Linked DNA regions of Homo sapiens: region 1 is linked to region 2. Evidence: promoter capture Hi-C in 16 types of primary human blood cells and fetal thymus (Javierre and others, 2016). All regions are on one chromosome and are shown on one strand. Each heading gives the region's core, a stretch centred on a gene start or on the middle of the fragment in contact. The rest is flanking DNA. Distances are from core to core; before and after follow the strand shown.

What was found. The method cuts DNA at HindIII sites, captures the fragments that hold promoters and counts their contacts. A CHiCAGO score of 5 or more calls a contact.
Region 1: a contact is called between a fragment that was not itself captured here and the fragment with the promoter of HABP4 in region 2, in 1 of 17 cell types (monocytes). The highest score is 5.4, in monocytes.

The regions. Positions count from the first base shown.
Region 1 is chr9:96,852,204-96,856,826 of GRCh38, reverse strand. It overlaps ZNF782 (zinc finger protein 782), which reads left to right and starts at 2,313. Exons shown (of 6, transcript NM_001001662.3): 1 at 2,313-2,739; 2 at 3,758-3,974. RefSeq lists silencers at 2,541-2,610, 2,891-2,980. The HindIII fragment of the contact is 2,179 bases long and covers 1,700-3,878 here.
Region 2 is chr9:96,447,664-96,452,302 of GRCh38, reverse strand. HABP4 (hyaluronan binding protein 4) reads right to left here and starts at 2,134. Exons shown (of 8, transcript NM_014282.4): 1 at 1,675-2,134. The coding sequence starts at 2,023. RefSeq lists silencers at 1,617-1,666, 1,747-1,806, 1,817-2,356 and an enhancer at 2,637-2,716. The HindIII fragment of the contact is 2,057 bases long and covers 395-2,451 here.

The DNA of each region.
Region 1 (4,623 bases), core at 1,540-4,039, 400 kb before region 2:
ATCATCTGCAACTTAGACAATTCTGTTGGTTTTAAGGTGGAAACAGCTGCCAGTCTATGTATCCCTGGGATTCCTCTAACCCTGCTAAGCAGGGTTACTCATGAATTACTTTACATCTATCAATCATCTGTCCTACAAAGAACTGGGCAAACCTTCTTGGAAGGCCAGAAGGTTTTGCAAAAGCTTTAGGAAAGGGTTATGGCTGAAGGCAGCCTGATCCTCTTACCTTGAGTTAATAGTAAAAAGCAAATAACAAGGGAATGTAGAGGAGTTTATCTAAATAGCTTGTTTTCTCATTGTTGTCCTAAGACTGACCTTTGATCATTCGCATGCAGGACTGCTCTCTCTGGGGAGGGCGGGAGAAAGGGAGCAGAATCTCTGTAAAATGTGATGTTCAATAACCATTTGTTTTTGAAAACATTTTTGAGGTTGGTAGCTTAGATCTGGCAATGTTCTCCCATCTAATAACCATCAGACAAGAAATAAACTTGCTTAGAATAAACTTTTTTCCTTTTGTTTTGATTTAAAGAGTTCAAGTAGCTCATGGATATACTCTTCTGCAGAGCACCCTCTGAGGTAACAACACCTCGCAGCTCACCTTTAATCTTTACTCAGCTGTTCACTTTGCCCAGAGAGTGGGAGAAAATCTTCACAATCTATATATCTGACAAAGGACTAATATCCAGAATCTACTACGAACTCAAACAAATCAATCTCATCAAAGAAAAAAAACAAACAATCCCATCAAAAAGTGGGCTAAGGACATGAATAGACAATTCTCAAAAAAGATATACAAATGGCCAACAAACATATGAAAAAATGCTCAACATCACTAATGATAAGAGAAATCCAAATCAAAACCACCTTACTCCTGCAAGAATGGCCATAATCAAAAAATCAAAAAATAGTTGATGCTGGCATGGCTGCAGTGAACAGGGAAAACTTCTACACTGCCGGTGGGAATGTAAACTAGTACAACCACAATGGAAAACAGTGTGGAGATTCTTTAAAGAACTAAAAGTAGAACTACCATTGGATCCAGCAATCCCACTACTGGGTATCTACCCAGAGGAAAAGAAGTCATTATATGAAAAAGATACTTGCACATGCATGGTTATAGCAGCACAATTTGCGATTGCAAAAACGTGGAACCAACCCAAATACCCATCAATCAACAACTGGATAAAGAAACTGTGGTATGTATCTGATGATATACTACTTAGCCATAAAAAGGAATGAATTAATGGCATTTGCAGCGACCTGAATGAGATTGGAGACTATTATTCTAAGTGAAGTAACTCAGGAGTGGAAAAACCAAACATCGTAGTTCTCACTCATAAGTGGGAGCTAAGCTATGAGAATGCAAAGGCATAAGAATAACACAATGGGCTTTGGGGACTTGGCGGGGAATGGCGGAGGGCAGCGGGGCAAGGGATAAAAGACTACAAATGGGGTGCAGTGTATACTGCTCAGGTGATGGGTGCACCAAAATCTCACAAATCGCCACTAAAGAACTTACTCATGTAACCAAACACCATCTGTTCCCCAATAACCTACGGAAATAAAAAACAATCAGCAAAAAGCAAGAAAATTCGTTAATGCGCATGGAAACCTAAGATAATTAACATTAAATTTAAATATGTTGAATCAATAAGAGAATTCGGCAAGAAGCAATGTTAAGGGATAAAAACCAAAAGCTTTTCTCTAACACCTGCAGCACCGGGCTCGACCCGCCTTAGAACCCTCACGCCTGGGGGCGCCAGGACAGGGCTCACAGGTCAATGGGTCGGGTAGGCTGTAAAGAGACAAGGTGGAGGTTCCAGGTTGAAAATGTATAAAATTGTAAAGTAAATTCAAAGTTATATCATTTCAATGCTAAATACTTCAGTAGTGATCCCTTTTTTTAAAAAAAAAATTTCTACAAAATTCTTAATTTTTTTTCACAGTTCACAAAAGTAATGGTACTTTTTTTCAATATTTGCAATTCCCAATCCATATTCAGCTTCCCAATTGTCTCCGAAAGTCTTACGGAAAAAAAAAATGTTGGTTCAACCGGGAACCAATGGAGGGCTACTCTTTGTATTTGTCAGTAGCGTTTAAGTTTTAACCTTTAACTTCTCCCTGTTCTTGGAGAGCCTGAGCGGGAGACTTCATAAAAACTCCATCCCCGCCAATTCTGAATCGCCGAAACGTGAGGAGTCACGTCGAAGGCGGACGCAAGAGCTTATGGGAAATGTAGTCCTGAATGAGTCTGGTTCGCCGCGCAGCACTCTGGGATGGGGCTCCTGGGCTCCTTCTGCGCCTGTGCAGCCAGAGCCCCGCCTCCTCATTTGGGTTCTCGAGACTCCCGGGAAGCGGTTTGGGAAGCTCGGGGGTCGGCTCGGAAAGTAGAGGGGGCGCAGCTGGGGCGGGAGGACAGCGTTTGTGCCCGGAAGCGGGAGAGGAAGCGGGAAGTTTGTGGGATCCCCGCCCCCTGTGTCAGTGGATGCGACCGGGCGGGCCCTCGGCCTTCCCGGCCGCTGGAGAGGGACTTCGGCCGCTGGCTCCCGGGGCGGCTGAGGCTGAGCGTTGGTCCGGAGCAGGTGCCGGGTGCGGGCCGCGGTGTGCGGGACCGGAGCCCGGCGCGAGCGGCGGCGGGGGTGGGGAAAGCGCATTTGTAACGCGGGCGACAACGTGCCCGAAATCCCCGGACGGTGGGTCTGCATCGAGACCCCGAGCTCTGGAGCTGGAAAAACCCGGGTAAGTTCCATCTCTGTCAACTGGAAGCCGAGGCGAATGTAGGGACGTGGATGAGAGTCAGGTTTCTCATCTGAAAGTGAGGGTATTAATAATGACTGCTTCATGGCGTTGGTTTAAAACTTTAAGTCACCACCTGTAAAGCAAACAGCCGACTGTAGGCTACTAAGCCATGAGCGGACTGCTGCTGTTATATTTAGAAGACACTTTGTTCCATTCGTTGGGTGCCTATGTATACCTCACAACCACATCTGCATTAAATATAACTGAGGCTCAGGTCACAAGCTAGCAGTGAGGGAGCTGGGGTTCAAAGGCAGGTGTGATTTATTTCCCGTTTCAGGCGCTAATATCACACCTGCCTAAAACCAGCATTGCAGCCTTCACAGCACTTAGCAGAATGTCATGTCCCCAAATACTCAGGGAGTGGATGTAGATGGAATCTTACCATGTGTCAAATGTAGTCTGGATTTCTGGTGTGTCTTCAGATCTCTTGGGTCAGACAGGTTCCTGGCCCCTTCTGCATTGTCAGGGTGTCTCTCTTTTAAGTCTGATGTAAAGAATTCTAAGAGTCAGATTTTTGCCACTAACATGGTTTCTCAGGTCAGGTCGCAGGCTCCTTGAACAGAGCAGCCCTTGCGAGGTGGGAAGCAGGGGTCTCTGTGAACAGTTTTACCTGGAAGAGAACACCTCTCAGACCTAGGCCTCCCTCCCGAGCTTCAGAGCAGAGGCAGAAGAGCCCACAGAGGAGCAGATCCTAGATGTGTATGGTCAGAAGCAGTTCTTGATCCTCCTTCCCAGAATGAGCCAGACTTGGTGAAGCCTCCAGAAGCCACCACACAATGGGTGACAGTGGGTGGTTTGGGCCAGCTTTGAGAAGAGCAAAATGGGCTAGGTGGTGGCCAGGGACAGGCTGCTCAGGAAAGGCCACATCATTGCATAGGTCTGAGGGTAGGGGTAACCGGAGATTCTGTCCCCAGATCCCAAAGTAGCCCCCAGTCGCTTTGTTCTCCACTCTTTACAGATGCCATACTGCTGTTAACATATGTGACACTGGAGACTTTGTCCCTACCTCATAGAATCCCATGCATGATGATACATGAAGGGTTTTCCGTGGCTATCTACTTCTGATTCTTTTGAAAGCTTTAAAGACATTGGGCATGAAAGGTTCAGTGAGTTTCCGGGGATCCCTCGTTTGTGGTAGAGCCAGGAGGAAAACAGTTCCGTTCATTCTTTCACAGGTGAGTCACCAAAAGCATCTTATCCAAAGGGCCTTTTGAGAAATACATCCCAGTTAAAACATCTAAAACTCTTTGCCTTAAAGTATCTCATCTCTTTTATAAGACTTTCTGTGGATTGTCTATACCAAGGGTAAATAATATTACTAAGAAAAATAGTTAAATGATGCACACTGAATATTTTTCTGCTAAGTTAATTTTGTGTTTTGGAGACAGAGTCTCATCCTGTTGTCCAGGCAGGAGTGCAGTGGCACAAACATGGCTCACTGCAGCCTCTACCTCCTGGGCTCAAGTGATCCTCCTGCCTCAGCCTCCCAAGTAGCAGGGACCACAGGCGCATGCCACCACACCTGGCTAATTTTTTAAGTTTTTATTTTCTGTAGAGACAAGGTCATGCCATGTTGCCCAGGTTGGTCTTGAACTCCTGAGCTCAAGCTGTCCTCCCTCTTTGGCCTCCCGAAGTGCTGGGGTTACAGGCTTGAACCACAGTACCTGCTAGGTTAATTTTAATGAAAGAATAGTGTCTTACCCTGTGGTGTACTTTAATTCAACTAATCCTGTATTGTCTTTATTTTTGTGTGTGTGTTAGAAGCACATGTGCATTGTTAAATCAATTGGGAAAAGTTTATGTTCACTCAATAAAAAACAGCAG
Region 2 (4,639 bases), core at 885-3,384:
CTAAAAATCAATGTATTAACAGCACTAACTCGTCTCACGTTTTTCTGAAGCACAGAATTTTTTTTTTTTTTTTTTTGTGACGGAGTCTCGCTCTTTCTCCCAGACTGGAGTACAGTGGCTCGATCTCGGCTCACTGCAAGCTCCGCCTCCTGGGTTCACGCCATTCTCCTGCCTCAGCCTCCCGAGTAGCTGGACCTACAGGTGCCCGCCACCACGCCCGACTAATTTTTTGTATTTGTAATAGAGACGGGATTTCACCGTGTTAGCCAGGATGGTCTCGATCTCCTAACCTCGTGATCCGCCCGCCTCGGACTCCCAAACTGCTGGGATTACAGGCGTGAGCCACCACACCCGGCATTTTCATTTGTTAAAAAATAAAGGGTGAAGAAAAGCTTAGCCTTCCTCAATTCCTTTATTATATTGATGTAAATAAGTTTAAGAGAAAAAGATAAAAAACAGGATATAAAATGCACAATGTATCTCCAGTCTCACTGTTTAGATAGGCTCAGAAATTTACTGGCCTACCAAAGTGTCGTGAGATAGTAAATAACATTTTTTTAAAAATCATTTTCAACATCTTTATTGTAGTGACTTGATTCTCAAGTGATGACTCTGGATTTAGCTTTTCACAAATAAAGGTAAACATTACCCAGCTGCACATCAAAGCCCTAATACTTAAACCTGAGACGTTTCCTCAGGGCTGCGATGCACAATTTTTATCAAGCAAGGAACAAACCAATAAAGCCAAGTTGAACACACTGGCAAACGTCGGCAGGAATGGTCAACCTACACATCTTAATCCTAACACTCTGCAAACCTTGGGACCGCTGCCTCATTTCAAGAAAACAGGAAACACAGGTGGAGTGTTGCTGGCTCTGCCACTGACGCAGTTCGGTGAGAGAATGAACTCTGAAGCACCCTCCCCGTCCACAGGCAGCAGGACACCACGCTGCGCACCGGTTTTTCTTGCTAAATAGGGAGTGGGGAACTCCGAATATTCTTGCTGGAAAGGTTAAAAACGCTTTTCTTAAAGCAGCCTTGAGCTATTTATAAGTTGCACATCCCATCAACACCACACGAAGTACTGAAATACGATGCCGGCTGCCTCCTGGAAGCTACCGGACGGAGAAGGGGCGAAGGCGCCAGGCCGGACCGCGCCGGGGACCCCCGCCCGGGCCCCGACGTCACAGGCCGCCCCGCGGTCGCCCAGGCCTCCGGCATCACAGAGGCCCCCAGCCCCGGGACCAGGCGCCCTCCTCCTCCCCACCGCGCTCTCGGGTGGCTCCGACCTCAATCTTGCAGAGGCTGGGCTGGAAGATGAAGGTCCCCGCCAGGTCTGGATGTGGGAGCCCCGGGGTAGCGACCTCAGCCGTTCGCCCCCACACGCCACCCAGACAACCTCCCTCAACTTCGTCCAACTTGCCGTAGAGCCTCAGTGCCAGGGTTCGAGGGCCCTATCCCACCCCAAGCCAGCGTTTCCCCCGGAGCCCCGCACGAGGCTGGCGAGAGCTGGAAGGGGTGTGACCCCTGCCCCTCTCCTCCTACCTTCGGCGGCCACCAGGACCCTCAACTCTCCCTACTGTTCCCGGGCCCCTCCTCCTGAAACCGGCCCCCGGGACCCCAGTCTCACAGCGGGCCGAGCCGTGGTCCGCTAACCCCGCTGTCCCCGCGTACCCGGCGCCTGCAGGCCGCCCCCGGGGCTATCGGGCCGCTGAGCGACGGGCGCCGGGAGGCTCTTGCGCTCCTTCTGCGACTCCCTCCGGCCGCCCGCGCCGGCTCTGTGGCCCGAGGCCCCGGCTGGGCTCCTGCCGCCGCGGGGACCGGCCCCGGCCGCCGCCGCCGCCTCGTCGCGCCTCTTGCGCTGCAGCTGCTGCTGGCGCCGGCGCTCGGCCTCGCGCAGGATGTCGAACGGGTCCGACTCGTCGTCCAGCAGCTGATGGAAGCGGTTGGCCACCACGCAGCCGAAACTCTCCTGCATCGCGGCGCCAGCGGCAGCCACGGGACTCCCCAGAGCGCCCTTCATGCCGCCGCGACCACTGCGGGCCCGGGAGGGCAGCCCACGCGAGCGCGTCTCAGCGAAGCCGGCGGCCAGGACCCATGCCGCCCGCTCCGCCGCCACCGCCCTCCGGGCCCTACCCTGTCCGGCCCCTACCGGCGCCCGCCCCCGCGGCGCCGCCGCCGTCCGCCCCGCTGCGCCAGACAGCCAGTCAGCGCGCGCGGGTGCGCCCCCTTTCCGACACGGCGCGCCTGGAGACCCAATCACCGACCGGCTGCTGTCACGTCACGCGACCTCTGGGCCCCGCCCCGTTCGCTCAGCAGGGAGGGGCGGGGCCCAGGGGCGGAGCTACTGGCTGGTCCAGGCGGCGCCGACGAAGCGGTGGGGTCTCGGCTGTGTGTGCTTTCTCCCGGGACTGCGACCGTATTTGCTATGGGCCACTCTGCTTTGAAGCTTATGTATACATTTAGCCGTGCAACAGCTACATATTGCGCACTTACCGTGTGCCAGGCATTATGTTGTAGGAAATACTAGCTCCGTGTTGTCACAGATCTGAGTCTGTAGATGGAGAAAAAGTGCCCTGAAGGACAGGCGCAGAGCTCTCTACGGGCTGCAGCAAAGGGATCTGACCTAATTGGGAAATGACAGTTAAGCCGAGGGAGAGGGGTGACAAGGGGTTGGAGGAGGAACAGCAAGTGCAGCAGTCTTGAGGTGGGATGTGCACAGCCTATTCAAGCTCAAAGTGGTCTCTATTCTAAGAGCAGTGGGAAGCAAGTTTTGAGCATGAGCAGATTTGGGTTTGAAAAGGCCACCCTACCTGCACTGTGAACTAATAGTTTGGAGGGAAATACAAATGGATGCTGGGAAGCCAAACATGATTGTTGCAAAGCTCCAGGGAAGAGTTGATAGTGACTGGGATTAGGATGGTGGCGGTGGAGGCGAAGAGAGTAGATGGATTCAAAGACTTGGTGATGCGCTAGAGGTGGTGATGAGGGAGAAGAAGATACGGTGACTCTTATTTTCCTGGCTCCAGCATCTGAATGATAGTATTAGTTACCACTGGAAGACACTACTTTAACGGGAATCATTAATTCAGTCTGGGACACGTTGAGGTTTGGATATTTGTTTTCTTTTGAGATATTCAGTTGAGGCCTGGAGCTTAGAGAACGCCGGACTGGACTTCCTCCAGGAAATCTTTGCATAGGCAGCGGTGGAGACACGCTTGGCTGCCTATCCTACAGCCGTTCTTTCCCTCTTACATTTTTCCAGAGCCTGTATTTTGTTCAGGCATCATATTCCCCAGGGGAAGAGGGCCCCTTCCAGCCTCAAACTTGATTAATCATACATTATTCATTGCACCTGATTCCAATTCCTTGCCAGTAATTGGCTTAGGAATAGGCTGTGGGGCAAATCGGGCAGAACAGATCTGAGAAGTATTCTGGGAAAGTTTTTCTTGCACCTAACAAGGGATTGAGAAGGGATCTCCCCCCCTTCTGTTCCCTGGTCTTTGTTCCATGAGAAGACATGATGCCTCGGGTGGCTGTTCCTTAGCGTGGCCATGAGGATGGCAGAGCAGGATAGAGAAAGGCTAGATCCTTGATGAGGTTGAGCTGCCGACTGGACCCACTTGGGAACCTCCCTACTTGAGGCTTATGATGTAAGGTGACAGATGTGATTGCGCTTAGTTGTGTTTGCTTGTTTCATCCGAAAGCATCCAGTTAGAGCATCTTGCCAGGTGCTCTGTGACCAGCTTTTACTTTCCTTAATAGCAAAGGAATTCCTAATCCTAAATGCTGTAAAGTCTGTGTGTTACTCACTTATTGAATTTTGTGTTATTCCCAAGGAGGACAGGGATGATGCCTGTCTTATTCACTGCAGTATGTATTCCCAGTGCTTGGCGTTCTAAGCAGCTATAGAGTAGGTTTTCAGTAAATATTTGTTGAATGATTGAAGAATTTAAGATATTTGGTCATCTCCTTTTGAGTGAGCAAAGATTAATGCCTACGCTTTCTACCCAAAAGAATTAAAAGCAAGTGTTCAAACCAAAACTTGTACATGAGTATTCATAGCAGCACTATTCACAATAGCCAAAAGACAGAAACAAATAATATACATGTCACCCGATGAATGGATAAATAAAATGTGGTACAAAAAATATTATTTGGTCAAAAAGGAAGTATTGATACTTGTTACAACAGGGATGAAACTTGAAAACATTGTGCTAAGTGAAAGACGGACAAAAAGGGCCACACGTTGTATGATTCCATTTATATGAAATGTCCAGAATCTATAGAGACAGAAAGCAGATTGGTGGTCACCAGGTGTGGGGGTTGGGAGTGTTGGAAAGTAACTGCTTAATGGGCATGGGAGTTTCCTGTGGGGTGATGAAATGTTCTGGAACGAGATAGTGGAGATGGTTGCACAAAATTGTAAATTTAGTAAATGTCACTGAGTTGTACACTTTAAAATTGTAAAAATAGTAAATTTTGTGTAAAATTTAGTAAAAATAGTAAATTTTTTGTAAAAATAGTAAATTTATCTTAATGAACCAGAGTAAAAATAGTAAATTTATCTCAATGAACCAGAATCACTACATGCAACAGAGACCACACTTTGAGAAGCACTGCTTCAAGCTAAAGTTAT